Linked DNA regions of Homo sapiens: all the other regions are linked to region 1. The links are contacts of gene promoters, found by promoter capture Hi-C in blood cells and fetal thymus (Javierre and others, 2016). All regions are on one chromosome and are shown on one strand. The core of a region is centred on a gene start or on the middle of the fragment in contact, and the rest is flanking DNA. Distances in the headings are between cores, read along the strand shown.

What was found. Contacts are between HindIII fragments. The CHiCAGO score rates a contact against its expected background, and 5 or more counts as called.
Region 2: a contact is called between a fragment that was not itself captured here and the fragment with the promoter of ORC2 in region 1, in 1 of 17 cell types (neutrophils). The highest score is 5.5, in neutrophils.
Region 3: a fragment that was not itself captured here is called in contact with the fragment with the promoter of ORC2 in region 1 in 1 of 17 cell types (neutrophils); the score reaches 6.5 in neutrophils.
Region 4: a fragment that was not itself captured here is called in contact with the fragment with the promoter of ORC2 in region 1 in 1 of 17 cell types (activated CD4 T cells); the score reaches 5.1 in activated CD4 T cells.
Region 5: a fragment that was not itself captured here is called in contact with the fragment with the promoter of ORC2 in region 1 in 1 of 17 cell types (neutrophils); the score reaches 5.1 in neutrophils.
Region 6: a fragment that was not itself captured here is called in contact with the fragment with the promoter of ORC2 in region 1 in 2 of 17 cell types (neutrophils and total B cells); the score reaches 7.9 in neutrophils.

What each region holds. Positions count from the first base shown.
Region 1 is chr2:200,962,205-200,965,099 of GRCh38, reverse strand. It overlaps ORC2 (origin recognition complex subunit 2), which reads left to right and starts at 1,440. Exons shown (of 18, transcript NM_006190.5): 1 at 1,440-1,610. LOC105373835 (a long non-coding RNA gene) reads right to left here and starts at 1,668. Exons shown (of 3, transcript NR_187976.1): 1 at 1,470-1,668. RefSeq lists a silencer at 1,031-1,429 and an enhancer at 2,138-2,207. The HindIII fragment of the contact is 10,169 bases long and covers 1-2,895 here.
Region 2 is chr2:201,455,099-201,457,993 of GRCh38, reverse strand. All of the region lies in intron 2 of STRADB (STE20 related adaptor beta), which reads right to left. Among named protein-coding and RNA genes, the nearest start is that of STRADB, 4.8 kb to the right of the region's middle. The HindIII fragment of the contact is 780 bases long and covers 1,147-1,926 here.
Region 3 is chr2:201,438,579-201,441,473 of GRCh38, reverse strand. The region is part of intron 1 of TRAK2 (trafficking kinesin protein 2); the gene reads left to right. Among named protein-coding and RNA genes, the nearest start is that of TRAK2, 11 kb to the left of the region's middle. The HindIII fragment of the contact is 1,540 bases long and covers 720-2,259 here.
Region 4 is chr2:201,392,276-201,395,170 of GRCh38, reverse strand. TRAK2 (trafficking kinesin protein 2) reads left to right here. Exons shown (of 16, transcript NM_015049.3): 9 at 299-373; 10 at 2,125-2,262. Among named protein-coding and RNA genes, the nearest start is that of FLACC1, 36 kb to the right of the region's middle. The HindIII fragment of the contact is 2,327 bases long and covers 341-2,667 here.
Region 5 is chr2:201,374,096-201,376,990 of GRCh38, reverse strand. No RefSeq gene overlaps it. Among named protein-coding and RNA genes, the nearest start is that of FLACC1, 18 kb to the right of the region's middle. The HindIII fragment of the contact is 4,146 bases long and covers 1-2,895 here.
Region 6 is chr2:201,277,443-201,280,337 of GRCh38, reverse strand. The region is part of intron 7 of CASP8 (caspase 8); the gene reads right to left. Among named protein-coding and RNA genes, the nearest start is that of CASP8, 18 kb to the right of the region's middle. The HindIII fragment of the contact is 3,204 bases long and covers 1-2,895 here.

The sequences.
Region 1 (2,895 bases), core at 191-2,690:
AGCTCCCAAATCTTGTGACTCTATATCTTCCCTCCCAATCCTACCTCCTTTATCCAAAGATCTTTCAATACAAATCTGACCAGTGCCCTAAGGGCCAACTAAGCCCTTCATAATAACAGACCCAATGCTTGGCATTTTACACAGCTGTTACACGGATTTGGACCTTCTACCTGGAAAATTTTACCCCTCTTGGCCTGTTTTAAATCTATTCAACACAGGGGTTTCAGTTTAAACATCTCTTCCTCCTAGAAAATTGTTCCTGACTCCTTCTGGGCTTTTAATTAGCTACTCCTACCATGTGCTCCAATGCACTTCCCATATCATGGTATTTTTCTCAATATTGTCCGTTCAATATCTTCACGTGCTAGGTAACTACAGTGAATGCAGAGATCGTAGTTGTCTCGCTCGATAATGAATACTTATCTTCTGTTCGCAGAGTACTCTGTAGTTTTGTTTTGAGTAAGTGAATCCAAATGAAACAATACCCTGTTCTTAATACTGTATGGATCCCATCCAGGTTCATTCCTTTTCTTCCTCATTTTCTCTGTCTTGTCTTTTTTATATTTTGGATAGTTGAAGTCAATCATTTTCTCTGTCTATTCATTCTATTTCCCCAGCCTCTTCATCCCACTAGCCGTCCGATCCCATCTCCATATTCAGTGCTTCTCCTAACGTCTCTTCTTCTCCCTACCCCAAACCCTGGAGATGTACAAGATCCTACCTTTCACGCCAAATGAAGAAAATCTTTAAAAAAGAAATGCGAATCAATTTCCATTACCTTTTTCTTCAAAAGGTAGCTGGGAAACCAATGAACACTTTTTTTTTTTTTTTTTTTTTTTTTTGAGACGGAGTTTCGCTCTTGTTGCCCAGGCTGGAATGCAATGGCTCGATCTCGGCTCACTGCAACGTCCGCCTCCCGGGTTCAAGCGTTTCTCCTGCCTCAGCCTCCCGAGTAGCTAGTATTACAGGCATGCGCCACCACGCCCGGCTAATTTTGTATTTTTAGGAGAGACGGGGTTTCTCCATGTCGGTCAGACTGGTCTCGAGCTCCCGACCTCAGGTGATTCGCCCGCCTCGGCCTCCCAAGGTGCTGGGATTAGAGGCGTGAGACACTGCGCCCGACCCCAAAGAACACTTTTTAAAGATTGCTACAAGACAAACAGCTACCACTCAGCCAGCTACTGTGCAAACTTCCTCAGATCCAAACAACACTTCCTTTTCCCTTCCCCGGAAACGGAAAGAAGAAAGGAAAGGTAAGGCCCACAACTCAGGGCCCAAGAATCCGTTTTCCTCAGGTTTCCTGATGGGCGGGGCCGAATGGCCGGCGCCGACTGGACGGCAGAGCCGTCGCTCTTGGCCGACTCCTCTTCCTATTGGCTTCCTCGGGCACCGCCCCCTGAACAGGGCGGGAGATTCGGTGTGCCGCACGCAGGCTTCCCATCCCCCAGCTGGCCTCCGGTGCTCCTTACCTCCCCGGTGGTCGGGCGCGAATTACTGGAAATTGGCTTTTCCCGTTGGGGCCGAAGGTACCTTCCCTGCGGCGGCGACTCAGCGGGGTGTCGTTCGGCCGGCGTGACGCAGCCGGATCGGCGCCAGACGGAAACCTAGCGGTGAGTAGTGGGGTGTCGGGGCAGCCTGCCTCCCTTTTCTGCTTAGCTCGCGGCGTGTGAGGTGCGTCCAGGTGCACCCAGCCCCGCGTCGGAGCTTGGCCCCTAGCGTCCCAAGTCGCGCATCTCAGGACTTTCCCTCGGCACTTGGGGCATGGTCTTTGCGCCTCGCTGCCCCCCGCAGGCTGCCCGGGGGCTCGAGAACCCTTACTGGTGGAGCGCAGCCAACTGGCCAGAGGCTGGAGGCGCAGGCCAAAGTCCTTTAAGACTTGAGGTGAGAGGCTCACTCTGGGAGGACCTTTCGTTAGTCTGCCCCGCAGTTATAGGCCTTTTGTGCAAGGGACGCCTGATACTAACCTACCTGATTCCCAGCTTACGAAGCCCTCTGGTTGGAAAAGGAGAACTGTGAAGATGTGTAACGACAGTGGTAAAGTGCCCTGTGAGGTATGAAGAGGAAGAGATCGCGTCCCAGAACCACTGTAGCTAGAACCTTTGATGTCATCCCAGCCTGGAGGCACCAATGTGTCCTGCCAGCTAACTGATCGGTCACCTTGGAGCCATGCTTGGCTGTAAAATGTTGATAAGCCAGGCTCTTTTGGTAGAGCTTTTTAATTAAAAAGATGTTGAGACGTTACTTTTCATTTTACAATTGAAATCCTAATAGAATCATTACACTTTCCCGCAGTTAAATTGCAATCTGAAGAAAAATAGCACGGCCCTACACCGTTATATAAGGGCACTGCACGTTAAACGGACATCATCACTTATTGAGCAGTTTTTCTGTTAGATGTTGAATGAGTTAGAGATGTACAAGAGATCTGCATGGTTAAGTTGAAGTTTAAAGTAAAAATATCTCAGTGCACTGCAGTAAGGAGCTAAAAAAGAAAAAGGTTAAAGTAAAAATACCGATAATTGGGAGCATTCAGTGATGCTCTTTTATATATCAGGCACATCATTTCATTTAATCGTCAGGACTTTGGACAAAGTCACACAGTTATAAAGTATGGAGTGGAGATTGGAACTCAGGTTTCTCCAATATTAAAATTGGTGTTTAACCACTAATCTATCCAACCTTCTTTTTCAAAGGATTATGTTTTTAAAAATTACAGCAAATCTTTTATTTGTTTTCAAAGGAGAGTGTGTTGCTACCACTTGGTGCAATGCTAACACTTGGTGCTGCAGAATTGCCTTGAAGTAACTCCTTGAAAGGGGTTGGCCTATAAGCACCAAGGCAGTGCCTTGAGGGGTCATAATGGTCACTAAATATTGCATTTTATTGTGTGATTGT
Region 2 (2,895 bases), core at 287-2,786, 490 kb before region 1:
AGAGTGCAGTGGTGCAATCTTGGCTTGATGCAACCTCTGCCTCCTGGGTTCAAGCAATTCTCCTGCCTCAACTTCCTGAGTAGCTGGGATTACAGGCACCTGCCACCACGCCCCGCTAATTTTTGTATTTTTAGTAGAGATGGGATTTCACCATGTTGGCCAGGCTGGTTTCAGACTCCTGACCTCAATCAAGTGTTCCGCCCACCTCAGCCTTCCAAAGTGCTGGGATTATAGGCGTGAGCCACCACAGCCATTTCAGAATTTTTCATTTCAAGCATCTTATTTTTATATTAACATTAAAGTACAATATCAAATGAGTCTCTTAAGATATGTCTACCTATGTCTACTTAACACTTTGTAGTCAATTACTTAAATATAAATTTCCTTTTAAGATATGCCAGAATTTCTCACTAATCAAACTAGTCATTGTCCCAGTTAGCCTTCATTACTGATTATTTTAACTTGAATTCCTACAGTCTGTATACTTTATAAATCTATTACAAAAATTTGGTATATATTCCCACTGTTTTATGTAAAACTCACCCTGAAGAATAGACGCTAACAATGTCAAGATAGCTGTACAACTGATTCCTCTGCAGAGTTTCTAATGGCTTCCTAGGGTGAATAACATTTATAATAAAACAGTTTTTGAAGATACTTATTACTGTTGTTCATATTGAAAATATCCACCAGCTGGGCAGGACATTTATATATTGTTTGGTATTTATATATTTTTACAACATTTAGCTTGAATTTTTCACAACGACCATTAATACCACTGTGCAAAAGAAGAATTAACAGCAGGCCTAAAACTGCTATTCTTAGAAAATAGCTGCTTATAAGGTTGACCCTTGGCTAGTATCTGGGAACTGGGATTTTGCAGAGGTTCCCTTCATAAGAATCGCTCACTGTGTCTAAACTGTTTGTGCAAATAATACAGTTTATGCTGAACACCTGGCTTTTTTTCTGGGAGACTGGAATTTTGTTACTTGCTAGCAGAGCACGCCTACGTGACAAGTCCCCAATAAAAACCTTAAGTCCAAGTCTCTAATGAGCTTCCCTAGTAGACAACATTTCACATGTCACAACTCTGGGGGAACTGTGCATATACTATGGAACTCCACTGAGAAAAGATTCTTGAAAGCTTGTGCCTGGTTTCCTCTGAACTTCACCCCACATACCTTTTCCCTTTGAATATTTTTGAATATAATTTCTTTATCCATTATCATAATAGCCAAGTAAAAAGTAGTTAGACCTTACAAAGAAACTGAAAGAAGATATTTTTACATATGCTGCTCCTTTGAAAACAGCATTTCTTAGTTCTCAAATAGAGGGTAAAACTTGAATGGGGAGGAATCCTTAAGTAAAAGTATCAACTTTATCCCAACTGCACAAATTTCTCGTTTAAGGAAAAAAAGTAAATATTTCGATTCAAAGAATTTAAAATATTTCACCATTGCAGAAAAATGTGATTTAAAGTTACAATCATTAACGATATAAATCACCCATTATCACATTCTATTATTTTTCACAAAACCCATAATTATGGAATAATAGGCTAAGATATTCTTTTTCCAAAATTTGAAAGCCCTGGGCAACACACAGCCCTTTGAATCTCACAATTCTCGCCTATCAAATGAAGGGAATAGACTGAATGCCCTTTCACATCTTTTCCAACTTAAAAATTGATATAAAATTGTAAATCTTAAGTAATCCTTTAGAGTAAGGGTCGGCAAACTATGGTCCATGAGCCAAATCTGACCCACCACCTGTTTTTGTGAGTAAAGTTTTACTGGAACACAGATACATTCATTCATTCATTTATATATTGCCTATGGCTGCTTTCATGCTAGTATTTCAGCAGAAAAGTAGCTGTAACAAAGACCAAAGGGTCTGTAAATACTATCTGGCCTTTACAGAAAAGCTTGCTGATCCCTCCTTTACAGAATAAAACATTTCACCTCCGTGTATTTTCCAGATATATAAAGCTTCTCTTTCAAGTGGTAATGCTTTACTTTAAACATGTAAGTAACTGTGTTATGTATTTTCCATATTACTAACAATCCAGTCTTCTAACTTCATAGTTCTGCCTCTCAGCCTTGGTAATTGATAGAATAGATTGGCAGGTATGAGTCTGGCTCCAACTTTTTGCAATCTTGGACAAACTGAAAATGAGGATAATGCCACCTGCCCTGCTAAACTTACACAATTTGAAACTATGAAAGAAATATATGAAAGTATTTGTAAACTATAAATCATCATACAAATATACTCATCCTTTTTTTTTTTTGAGACAGGATCTCCCTCTATCACCCAGGCTGGAATGCAATGGCATGATCACAGTTCACTGCAGCCTTGATCCCTTGTTCAAGGGATCCTCCCACCTTAACCCTCTGAGTAGCTGAGACTACAGGCATATGACACTACGTCTGGCTAATATTTTATACAGACAGGATCTCACTATGTTGCCTAGGCTGGTGTTGAACTCCTGGGTTCAACTGATTCTCTAGCCTTGGCCCCTAAAAATGCTGGGATTACAGGTGTGAGCCACTACACGTGGTCTACTCATTACTTTTTTAAAAACCACATTTTAATATAAGTATTCCCTATTCAAATATTATTATTATGTATAAAACAGGATGAAAGTCCTCAAGCTACTTAATCTAAAGTAGATACCACGGATCTAAATATAAATAGAAAACCAGTTGGCAGCTATACCTCATATATACATTGATCCAAATGATTTTATTTCGGTTAAGTCAAAGGGGTTATTTTTAATACTGTTTGGCTTGCTTTTGGTCAGATGGAAATTTGTAAAAGGAATTTCTGAAAGATTTAAAAGATAAGGCATAGCTAACTGGTGTGGGTGGCATATCAAAGTATAACACCTATGAG
Region 3 (2,895 bases), core at 240-2,739, 480 kb before region 1:
CAAATGAAGCTTTTATTAGCAATTGTGAGTTTTTAAAAGAAGATATCTGACCATTTCTCATTTGATGTGGGGCTTATTTTAAATGCATTCATGATCAGCTGCAAATGCTCTTAGTGGAAATTGTGATAAAACTAAGCAATGAGCCAAATGAATGTTGAGTTTTGGCTTTCCTATGAGACTGACAACTAGTTCTTTTTAGTTATTACAGAAAAGTGTATAGTGTGTCATTGCTATAAAAATGATAAAGCACCCTTTTAACACCAAACTCTTTTATGCAGATTTTTTCATAAAGCACATAAGTGTTTTTCTTTAGAATATTCAATCTTAGCTTAACTGTGTTTTTCAAGGCAATTCATTTAGTTGATGTTGTATTGAAAATGTATTAATATCAACTTTGTTCATTAAATTACTTCTGTAACTCAGTGTATTGATATTTTTAATGATTAAGCTTCTAGGTAGTAGGCACGTATTTTGCAAGACTACTGTGTGTCAGTTGCTGTTAGGTTTTGGACATAACAAAAATAAGGTCCCTTCCTTTGAGGAACTTGCAGTGTAGTGAGGGAAGAATGACTAGTGGGCAGCCATCTTCTGGGATCATCCAAGAAAGGGAATCAATAAACACTGATTAACCCATTTATGCCAGAGGTTGCAAATTTTTTTGTGTGAAAAATCAGACTTTGGCGATGACCTTGAGCAGTAGGATATGACTCCCACAAGCTTAGCATTCCAATAATGGAACAGTAGGCATAAATGGGTTAAAAGCAAAAATTACAGTGAGGGATGTTAAGATTTCCTAAACCTTTTTTCCATATTTATAATCCACTTTATATTTCCCCTAGCAATTAACAGTAAAATTCTCACAAAAGAATAGAGGAAGAGCTGTCTTTTCTAGGGAGACAGTTAAGAAAGGACAGAGTGTGTTCATGTTCATAGCTAGGCTAGGTAAAAGAATACCAGGTGAGAAAAGCACTTGCTGACAGTGCCAAAGGAGGAGGAGAAAGCCAGCTAAATCCCTGGTGCTGGAGGGATGAAAGAAAGAGGTATTTGGGAAGTCAGCCAAGGGCAGAAAAACAGGTCCTGGAGTTCAGTCAAACAGACACCTTATGGGTGTTCTGATAACCTGCTTATCTGGTTTCTCAGCCAACAGCGAGTTAGAAAGGGGAGAGGCAAGCTAGCAACAGTAAAGTGTAGTAGTTGATAGCCTCACAGTGAGGGAGGAAACAAAATTAGAAATGGGCTTAAAATCTTAAAAAAAAAATAGCAATTTGGGATTATTTACTATAGGGAGAAAGAGCTCTTTAACTATGGATGGGTGCAGACTTGTTGGGGTCACATATGAGCGGGTTATTTTCTTTTTCTTTTTTCTTCTTTAAGAGGCACTTTTTTTTTTTAATACTTTAAGTTTTAGGGTACATGTGCACAATGTGCAGGTTAGTTACATATGTATACATGTGCCATGCTGGTGTGCTGCACCCATTAACTCATCATTTAGCATTAGGTATATCTCCTAATGCTATCCCTCCCCCCTCCCCCCACCCCACAACAGTCCCCAGAGTGTGATGTTCCCCTTCCTGTGTCCATGTTTTCTCATTGTTCAATTCCCATCTATGAGTGAGAACATGCGGTGTTTGGTTTTTTGTCCTTGCGATAGTTTACTGAGAATGATGATTTCCAATTTCATCCATGTCCCTACAAAGGACATGAACTCATCATTTTTTATGGCTGCATAGTATTCCATGGTGTATATGTGCCACATTTTCTTAATCCAGTCTATCATTGTTGGACATTTGAGCAGGTTATTTTCTATTTTGCCATCTTGGCTACACCACCCAGAAAAAGCTCTTTAAAAGTTTATAATCCTGGAGGATATCACTGTAGTCATTATATTATAATACAGTAATTGCTCTTCTTAGTAATGATCCTGAGTCATCAAATTATTTTCTGTCTGGCCTAAGGACTTTTTTTTTCCTCCCATGGCAGTTTATTGGACTTTCCTCGTTATCATGTGTTAACTTCAGGAGGAAAACATCTTACCATCAATGTTTTTTAAAATAAGAAAACCATGGAAAACCACAAAAAAAAAAAGTATTAAAGATTCTGTGGTATTTTTGCCATCATGTTGTCAATCCCATCTCTAGGGAATGTTTGCACCTTCAGAGTAACCGATGAGCTTAGTTGGTATAGCCCTGCACGTACACCTACTTTACTGATACCCATGAGAGACCTATGTAGACTTTTGTAAATTAGGCTAAGAAAGCTTTCCATTTCCACATGTTCTAACAGTCTCATATTCCTATGCAGTTCATTTTCCTCCCTACTATAGACTACAAGGATGTAATTTGACTACAGCCTGATTCATTCATTTAACAGATATTTATTGAATGCCTGTCATTTGCCAGATACTAAGATAGAGGTAGACTTAATTTATTGGAATAGAGATTTATTTTTTATCTATGTTCCATTTACTACTTTTAGCAGTTCAAAACAAGTAACAGAATGCTTCCCAATTTATGGTAATACATCTGTATTATTTTCTTGATATTGTAGAATTACCCACTTAAAAACAGAACCAAAGTCAGATTTGGAGTTGTCTCATTAAGAATTGTGTGATGTACATACAACACACACACAGATTATTCTGCCTCACTGTAAATACACCCAACTCTGGAACCAGATAAGTCATTTCTAAAAGCAAATATAAATTGCTCAAGAACAAATGGTTGGGGGGAGCGGATTACTTGTTTTTTTTCTTCTTCTTCTATATTCAGTAACCACTATGTGTTTTTAAAAAGTGGAGTAGAGACATAGGATTGTAGTAGAATTATCTGAGGCTTTTGCAAACTACACACACACTACTATCCTCACACTCCAGTCCCTTGCTAGTAAAGCTCAGAG
Region 4 (2,895 bases), core at 255-2,754, 430 kb before region 1:
CTTTATGTCATATAAGATATCATGAATAAATACTTTCAAGTCATTATTTCTCTTTGTAAAATGGGGTTAGTGCTTCCTCAGAAAGTGGTGTAAATTATTGACTCATGCCCATTGTCCTCTGAACACCTTGATAGATTTTGTATTCGAATGCCTATCTTATTTAGCTTTTGAAAGGTTAGCTTTTTGTAGGCTTTAAGATGATACCCCAGAGAGAAATTCTTCACATGTCTTTATAAGAAAGAGAATAGCTATATTTTACTTGGAAAGGCTTCACATGTCTTTTTTAATATGTTGTTAGCATGTGATTGAGAAGGAAGAACTAAAACTTCACCTGCAAGCTTCCAAAGATGCCCAACGGCAACTGACAATGGAGGTAATGAAATCTTTATCTTGTGTAATTCAGGAGGGGAAAGAGTGACTAGTTTCTTTCATCTTCATGAATAAGAATTATTAAAGGGGAATTACCAGATTTAAAAAACAACAACAAAAGGTTAAGATGATATTATGAGATCTAAGAAGTAAAGCATTTTGGCTGGTTGTGGTGGCTCACGCCTGTAATCCCAGCACTTTGGGAGGCCGAGGTGGGTGGATCACCTGAGGTCAGGAGTTCAAGACCAGCCTGGCCAACATGGTGAAACCCCATCACTAATAAAAATACAAAAGTTAGCTGGGCATGGTGGTGGGCATCTGTAATCCCAGCTACCCAGGAGGCGAAGCAGGAGAATCACTGGAACCCAGGAGGTAGAGATTGCAGTGGGCCCAGATGTGCCACTGCATTCCAGCCTGGGCAACAAAGCAAGACTTCGTCTCAAAAAAAAAAAAAGAAAGAAAAAGAATAAAGCATTTTAAAAGTCCTGTCCCTAAAACTAGTAACGTGGTAACATCCTTCTTGATTAATAGGGAAAACCTCAACTTTATAAGATTCTTTAGGAGTATATCACTCTTTTACCAGCTGACCTAAACTAGCTCAACAGTTTTTAAAATAAGATAAGTTCTAGTAGTAAATCTTTGTGCAGGTGTGTCAGGAGAAGAAGCAAAAAATCTCTTACTTTCTATCTACATAAAATTTTATTTATTAAATATAACTTAGTGATTCTTTAGCATGCATTAGTATCACCTGGAGCCAAGCACAGTAGCTCATGCCTGTCATCCCAGCACTTTGGGAGGCCAAGGTGGGAGGATGGCTTGAGCCCAGGAATTTGAGACCAGCCTGTACAACATAAGGAAACCTTCGTCTCTACAAAACAATCAAAAACTTAGCTAGGTGTAGTGGTGCACGCCTGTGGTCCCCGCTATTTGAGAGGCTGAGGTAGAAGGATCACTTAAGCCCAGAAGATTGAGACTGTAGTGAGCCATAATCACACCACTGCACTCAACCCTGGGCAACAGAGTGATATCTTGTAGGAGGGAGGGGGAAAGAATCACCTCGGAGAGCAAGTTTTAAATGGCGATTTCCAGGCACCATCCCAAGAGCTTCTACTTCAAGTGGTCTGGAGTGAGAGCCTAGAATCTGCATTTTTAATAAGCATCTTCAACCCTGGTGATTCTGATGAACTGGGGCATATACTGCACTTGAAGAAATTTTACAGTTAAAATATACTCTGAAAATTATGTACTCTTTTATCAGATGTGTATATCTAGTTGTAAAGAAGGTTCTGAAACAAGGCACGAAGATCTACTTGTTTAGGAGGATTGAGCACACTGACATTGTATATAACACTTTGTAGGCTCTTGATCTTGTCACTTACAGACTTCAGAGTGATGTTTAAAAAGATTAATATTATACTAAACCTAACTTGACTGTAGCTGTTATACTTCCTCTGTTAAGTGTATGAAGCATTCAATATTAAATTGACAGTTCTGGTAGTCTAGCTACGTTTCAGACTTTCAGGAAGTCACATCCGTGTATAATTTTGGCCAAGACACCCCTCCCTAATTCTGGTAGCTCAATATATATATATACGCTTCTTGCTTAGTTTGTTTTAGTCTTTGTATTGAAATGATATTCATAAAGTTAGCTAGCCCTCTGGGTAAAATCAATACTTATCCCAAAAGGTTTCGGGTTTTTTTTCCCTAATGTTGTTTTGGGAAGGCAATAAAGTACACTACCATCCTTTCTTTTAGCTGCACGAGTTACAAGACAGGAATATGGAGTGTCTAGGAATGTTACATGAATCCCAAGAAGAAATAAAGGAACTTCGTAGTAGATCTGGCCCTACTGCTCATCTCTACTTCTCCCAATCATATGGAGCTTTTACTGGGGTAAGCAACTAAGAAAGATGCTATGTATTTAAAGAAATTTGTTTAAGATTAGTTTGTCCTAAAAGTTTGATGGTTTATGATGGTATAAAACATCTGGAGAAGAGATTTTTTCCTTGTTTCTGGACTCCAATTATTGATTTAGGCCCTAATTTGTATATTGACATCTTCCTTAATACTCTTATTTATTCTAACAGGTGACTTTCCAGATATATTGTATCAATAATACATAAGATGAGCCCTAAGGAAATTCAGTTTAGGACTGTGTACCATAGAACTAGTTAAACTTGGGTCATCCTACCCTAGGCCCACAGCCTGCCACTTACTTAAGTGGTGCTTTGAATATCTAAAACCTCTTTCAATAAATCTTGAGTCTCCTGATATTTTTAACTTGTTAGAATGTAAGCTTCATGAGAACAAGATTCATCTTTGTTTGATTCATTTATAAATGGTATTTTTGTATTAAAAAATTAATAAAAACTTCTGAGTTTATATTAGAATTTGTAATGTTGGTTCAAAGAGTTGTTTTAACAATCTGATTCTTAAACTTCTGTGCAATCCTGTGAACTTTTTTAAAAGACTGAAACTATACATTTTAGTAGATTTTCTTAAAAATAGGGAGGCATAATTTTGTTT
Region 5 (2,895 bases), core at 258-2,757, 410 kb before region 1:
GCAAAAGTAACAGCAACATAAAAATAAAATCTAAAGTCATTGATATGCAGATACCAAGTTTGAGAAGATTCGGGAAATATGAAGCAGTTCTTTTCCTGTAGTCCACAGTTTTCTGTTGATGCTCTTAGCTATTTAAAAGTTATTTCCAAGAAGCTAAATTTGAACATTGTTAGACTCTAACAGAAAAGGTCTTTTGATACTTTGTCTTCTTCACAATTTAATTTCTTTTTTTTTTATAATTTCCATTTTTATTTTAGATTCTGGGATATATGTGCAGGGTTGTTACCTGGATATGTTCCATGAGGCTGAGGCTTAGAGTATGATAGATCCTGTTACCCAGATACAGAGTATAGCATCCAATACATAGTTTTTCAACCCTTTCCCCCCTCCATCCCTGCTGTAATAGCCCCCAGTTTCTATTGTTGCCATCTTTATGTCCTTGAGTAGCCAGTGTTTACCTCCCACTTGTAAGTGAGAACATGCAGTATTTGGTTTTCTGTTTCTGTGTTAATTTGCTTAGGATAATGACCTCTACCTACATGCATGTTGCCATGAAGGACATGATTTCAGGGTTTTTTATGGCTGCATACTATTCCATGGTGTATATATACAACATTTTCCTTATCCAGTCCACCACTGATGGACACTTGGGTTGATTCCATGTCTTTGCTATTGTGAATAATGCTGCGATGAACATGAATGCATGTATCTTTTTGTAGAATGATTTATTTTCTTTTGGATGTATACCCAATAGTGGAATTACTGGGTTGAATGGTAGTTCTGATTTAATTTCTTTGAGAAATCTCCAAACTGCCTTCCAAAGTGGCTGAGCTAATTTACATTCCCACCAACGGTGTACGAGCATTCCCTTTTCTCCACAGCCTCGCTAGTATCTGTTTTTTTGTTTATTTGTTCATTATGAGACAGAGTCTTGCTCTGTCACCCAGGCTTGAGTGCAGTCGTGCAATCATGGCTCACTGCAACCTCAACCTCCTGTGCTCAATCGATCCTCCCACCTCAACTTCCCAAGTAGCTGGAAGTGCAGGTGTGTTCCATAAAGTCCAGTTAATTTTTGTATTTTTTGCAGAGATAGGGACTCACCATGCTGCCCAGGCTGGTCTCAAATTCCTGAACTCAAGCGATTCTCCTGCCTTGGCCTCTGAAAGTGCTGGGATTACAGACATGAGCCACTGCATCTGGCACATATTATTATTACTATTATTATACTTTAAGTTCTGCGGTACATGGCAAAACATGCAGGTTTGTTGCATAGGTATACACATGCCATGGTGGTTTGCTGCACCCATCAACCCGTCATCTACGTTAGGTATTTCTCCTAATGCTGTCCCTCCCCTAGGCACCCCCCACCCCCCAACAGGCCCTGGTGTGTGATGGTCCCCTCCCTGTGTCCATGTGTTCTCATTGATCAACTCCACTTATAAGTGAGAACATGCAGTGTTTGGTTTTCTGTTCTTGTGTTAGTTTGCTGAGAATGATGGTTTCTAGCTGCATCCATGTCCCTGCAAAGGAAACGAACTCATCCTTTTTATGGCTGCATAGTATTCCATGGTGTATATGTGCCACATTTTCTTTATCCAGTCTATCATTGATGGGCATTTGGGTTGGTTCCAAGTCTTTGCTATTGTGAACAGTGCTGCAATAAACATACGTGTGCATGTGTCTTTATAGTAGAATGATTTATAATCTTTTGGGTATATATCCAATAATGGGATTGCTGGGTCAAATGATATTTCTAGTTCTAGATTCTTGAGGAATTGCCACACTGTCTTCCACAGTGGTTGAACTAATTTATACTCCCACCAACAGTGTAAAAGCATTTCTATTTCTCCACATTCTCTCCAGCATCTGTTGTTTCCTGACTTTTTAATCATTGCCATTCTAACTGGAGTGAGATGGTATCTCATTGTGGTTTTGATTTCCATTTTCTCTAATGACCAGTGATGAGGTTTTTTTTTCATATGTTTGCTGGCTGCATAAATGCCTTCTTTTGAGAAGTGTCTGTTCATATCCTTTGCCCACTTTTTGATGGGGTTGTTTGTTTTTTTGTTGTAAATTTTTTTAAGTTCTTTGTAGAGTCTGGATATTAGCCCTTTGTCAGATGGATAGATTGCAAAAATTTTCTCTCATTCTCTAGGTTGCCTGTTCTCTCTGATGGTAGTTTCTTTGGCTGTGCAGAAGCTCTTTAGTTTAATTAGATCCCATTTGTCTATTTTGACTTTTGCTGCCATTGCTTTTGGTGTTTTAGTCATGAAGTCTTTGCCCATGCCTATGTTCTAAATGGTATTGCCTAGGTTTTCTTGTAGGGTTTTTATGGTTTTAGGGCTTATGTTTAAGTCTTTAATCCATCTTGAGTTAATTTTTGTATGAGGTGTAAGGAAGGGATACAGTTTCAGCTTTCTGCATATGGCTAGCCAGTTTCCCCAGCACCATTTTATTAAATAGGGAATCCTTTCCCCATTGCTTGTTTTTGTCAGGTTTGTCAAAGATCAGATGGCTGTAGATGTGTGGTGTTAATTCTGAGGGCTCTGTTCTGTTCCCTTGGTCTATATATCTGTTTTGGTACCAGTACCATGCTGTTTTCGTTACTGTAGTCTTGTAGTATAGTTTGAAGTCAGGTAGCGTGATGCCTCCAGCTTTGTTCTTTTTGCTTAGGATTGTCTTGGCTATGCAGGCTCTTTTTTGGTTCCGTATGAAATTTAAAGTAGTTTTTTCCAATTCTGTGAAGGAAGTCAGTGGTAGCTTGATGGGGATAGCATCAAATCTATAAATTACTTTGGGCAGTATGGCCATTTTCACGGTATTGATTCTTCCTATCCATGAGCATGGAACGTTTTTCCACTTGTTTGTGTCCTCTCATTTCCTTGAGCAGTGGTT
Region 6 (2,895 bases), core at 253-2,752, 320 kb before region 1:
TCTGTCCTTTCTTTCTGGAACTCTTATTGTCAAAAATTGGACATCCTTGATTTAGCTTCAAATTTTCTTATCTTTCACTCCTATTTTCTATTTTTGTCTTTTTATCCTACTTCCTTAGACTTTATCTTCTACTTTATTGAATTTTTCATTTTGGTGCTCAAATTTTTAATTTTCAAGGAGACTTGCTTGTTCTGTCCCTTTTTCATAACATCTTGTTCTTTCATGGACCTTTAACTAACTCTCTAAGAATACTAAATACCAATATTAAGCATTAAAAAAGGTTGCTTTTTTCTCAACATTATCTTTTTTTCATTCATATTCTGTTTCATGTTTTTCTTGTTGTTTGCATTGCCTCTCATTTATCTAGTAATTTATTTATTTATTTGAGATGGAGTCTTGCTCTGTCACCCAGGCTGGAGTGCAGTGGTACGATCTCAGCTCACTGCAACTTCCACCTCCCAGGTTCAAGTGATTCTTCTGCCTCAGCCTCTGTAGTAGCTGGGGTTACAGGCACCTGCCACCATGCCTGGCTAATTTTTGTATTTTTAGTAGAGATGGGGTTTCACCATGTTGGTCAGGCTGGGCTTGAACTCCTGACCTCAGGCGATTCGCCTGCCTCGGCCTCCCAAAGTGCTGGATTTTCACGCCACCGTACCAAGCTACCTCTCTTTCGTATTAGAGCCTTTCTTCAAATGCCTGCTGACCTTTGGTTGTCCATTCATAAATTGACTAATTAGTCCATTAAAAAGTCGACTGAAAGCTCTGTGTTTGTGGATGTGGCTTGTTCTCTGAGGGATTTCATAGCAAGATGATTGGTTGGGGACCTGATCATTTCATTAGGAAACCTCCAGATGTCATTATCTGTATGTATTTTAGCTAGAGCTTTCAGCTTCTCCAGAGGTAAGTCTGTATCTGCTGCCAGTGTCTTGGAACCAAGTTGGTTTAGAGATCTGACTCCATGCCACCAGCAGGTTTTCTTCAGTCTCTCTGTGTTCAGTAAAATGCTTCATTGCTTCCTTTGCTGGGCCTGGCACACCGAAGTGTAGAGCCTCTCTGGTTCAATTTTATGAGAAAACAAACTTCCTGTTCCTTATGATGGTAGAATAAGAATAGTTGCTGGCTCTATGAGAGGAAGGTATGAATCAGAGGATTGTATAGGCTTATATAGGCTTTCAAAGAATCTTCCTGTTTTCTGCTCATTGCCTCACCTACACTTTGTACTTCCAATTGCTGAATTTTTCCAGGATTCTGTGGGGGTAAATAGGCTTGCCTCCTTTCCGTGTTCCCCTCTGTAATCAGTGAGGTTGTAGCTTTCTCTGTTAAGTCAATTACCTCGACTCTTTTTTTTCAACTCCCCCAAATTGTTGGAAACCTTTCATTAGCTATTGTCTCCTTTCCTGTTCTCTTGATCCTTGTTGGATTATTCCTTTTTTATTCCTTCTCCAGCATTTTGTCCCTGTCAGCACATCAGAGCTAAACATAAGTCATCAGTCAAAAGGCAGTCTCAGCCAGGTGCAGTGGCTCACACCTGTAATCCCAGCACTTTGGTAGGCCGAGGCGAGTGGATCACCTGAGGTCAGGAGTTCAAGAACAGCCTGACCAACATGGTGAAACCCCATCTCTACTAAATACAATTAACTGGGTATGGTGGCACATGCCTGTAATCCCAGCTACTTGGGAGGCTGAGGCAGGAGAATCACTTGAACCTGGGAGGCAGAGGTTGCGGTGAGCCAAGATCATGTTATTGCACTGCAGCCTGGGCAACAGAGTGAGACTCTGCCTCAAAAAAAAAAAAAAGAAAAAATACAGTCTAGCATTAGGAATAGAAAAAAATAACTGAAATGCAATAGGCCCTTGTTGATTTGGAAGCACTTTGGCAAGACTAATACAGTGTGTTGGTTCTGTGAAAAAAATTCTGATCCTTTGGAAATGTGGAATGTTGATTAAAAAAATGACTGTAAAGCAAGTCTGAAGGCACTGAAGCAGGACAGAAGGGAGTCTCTCAGGAGAAATGACTTCTGCAGCTGGGTCTCCTACTTTTACTCATTCAGCATAAAACATAAGAACAGGAACAGAAAAAGCAGGACACACAGACTCGAATGCCTACCAGAGACTAGTCAATCATGGGCCAGTTATAAGAAAATGAGCTGCCAGAAATAGAAGCAAATGTTATTTTAATAGAAATGTTTTAATTTTAAAAGAATACAAATCAAGGGTCCAAAATATTTTTTTCAATACCAAGCGCATAGTGACGAATGATGTAATCAATGGACTTAATCTCTGTGCCTTTTTAAAGGCTTAGATTTGCTTAAATAAACAAATCAAATGTTAGCAGGGACCAGGTACAGGTGGCTGACACCTGTAATTCCAGCACTTTGGGAGGCCGAGGCAGGCGGATCACTTGAGGTCAGGAGTTCAAGACCAGCCTGGCCAATATGGCAAAACCCCATCTCTACTAAAAATACAAAAATTAGCCATGTGTGGTGGTGTGTGCCTGTAGTCCCAGCTACTTGGGAGGCTGAGGCAGGAGAATCACTTGAACCAGGGAGGTGGAGGCTGCAGTGAGCTGAGATCACACCACTGCACTCCAGCCTGGGCAACAGAGTGAGACTTTGTCTCAAAAAAAAAAAAAAAATGTTAATAGGGGCCATTACAGACTCCTGATGATTATAATCAGTCTACATTAATTTTCTAAACTTACCTCCATTTGCAAAACAAATCAATAATTGATGTTATGCCTGATAAACACTATTTCCAAAAGTTCTTTGATCAAATCAAAATTATTAATCTCTCAATGGTGATGGATGATTTTTATTTTTTGTTGTTGTAGTCACTTTTTATATTCACATACTACAAATTGTTTTTTCATTTAACTTGTAAGTTCTTGATCTTAGC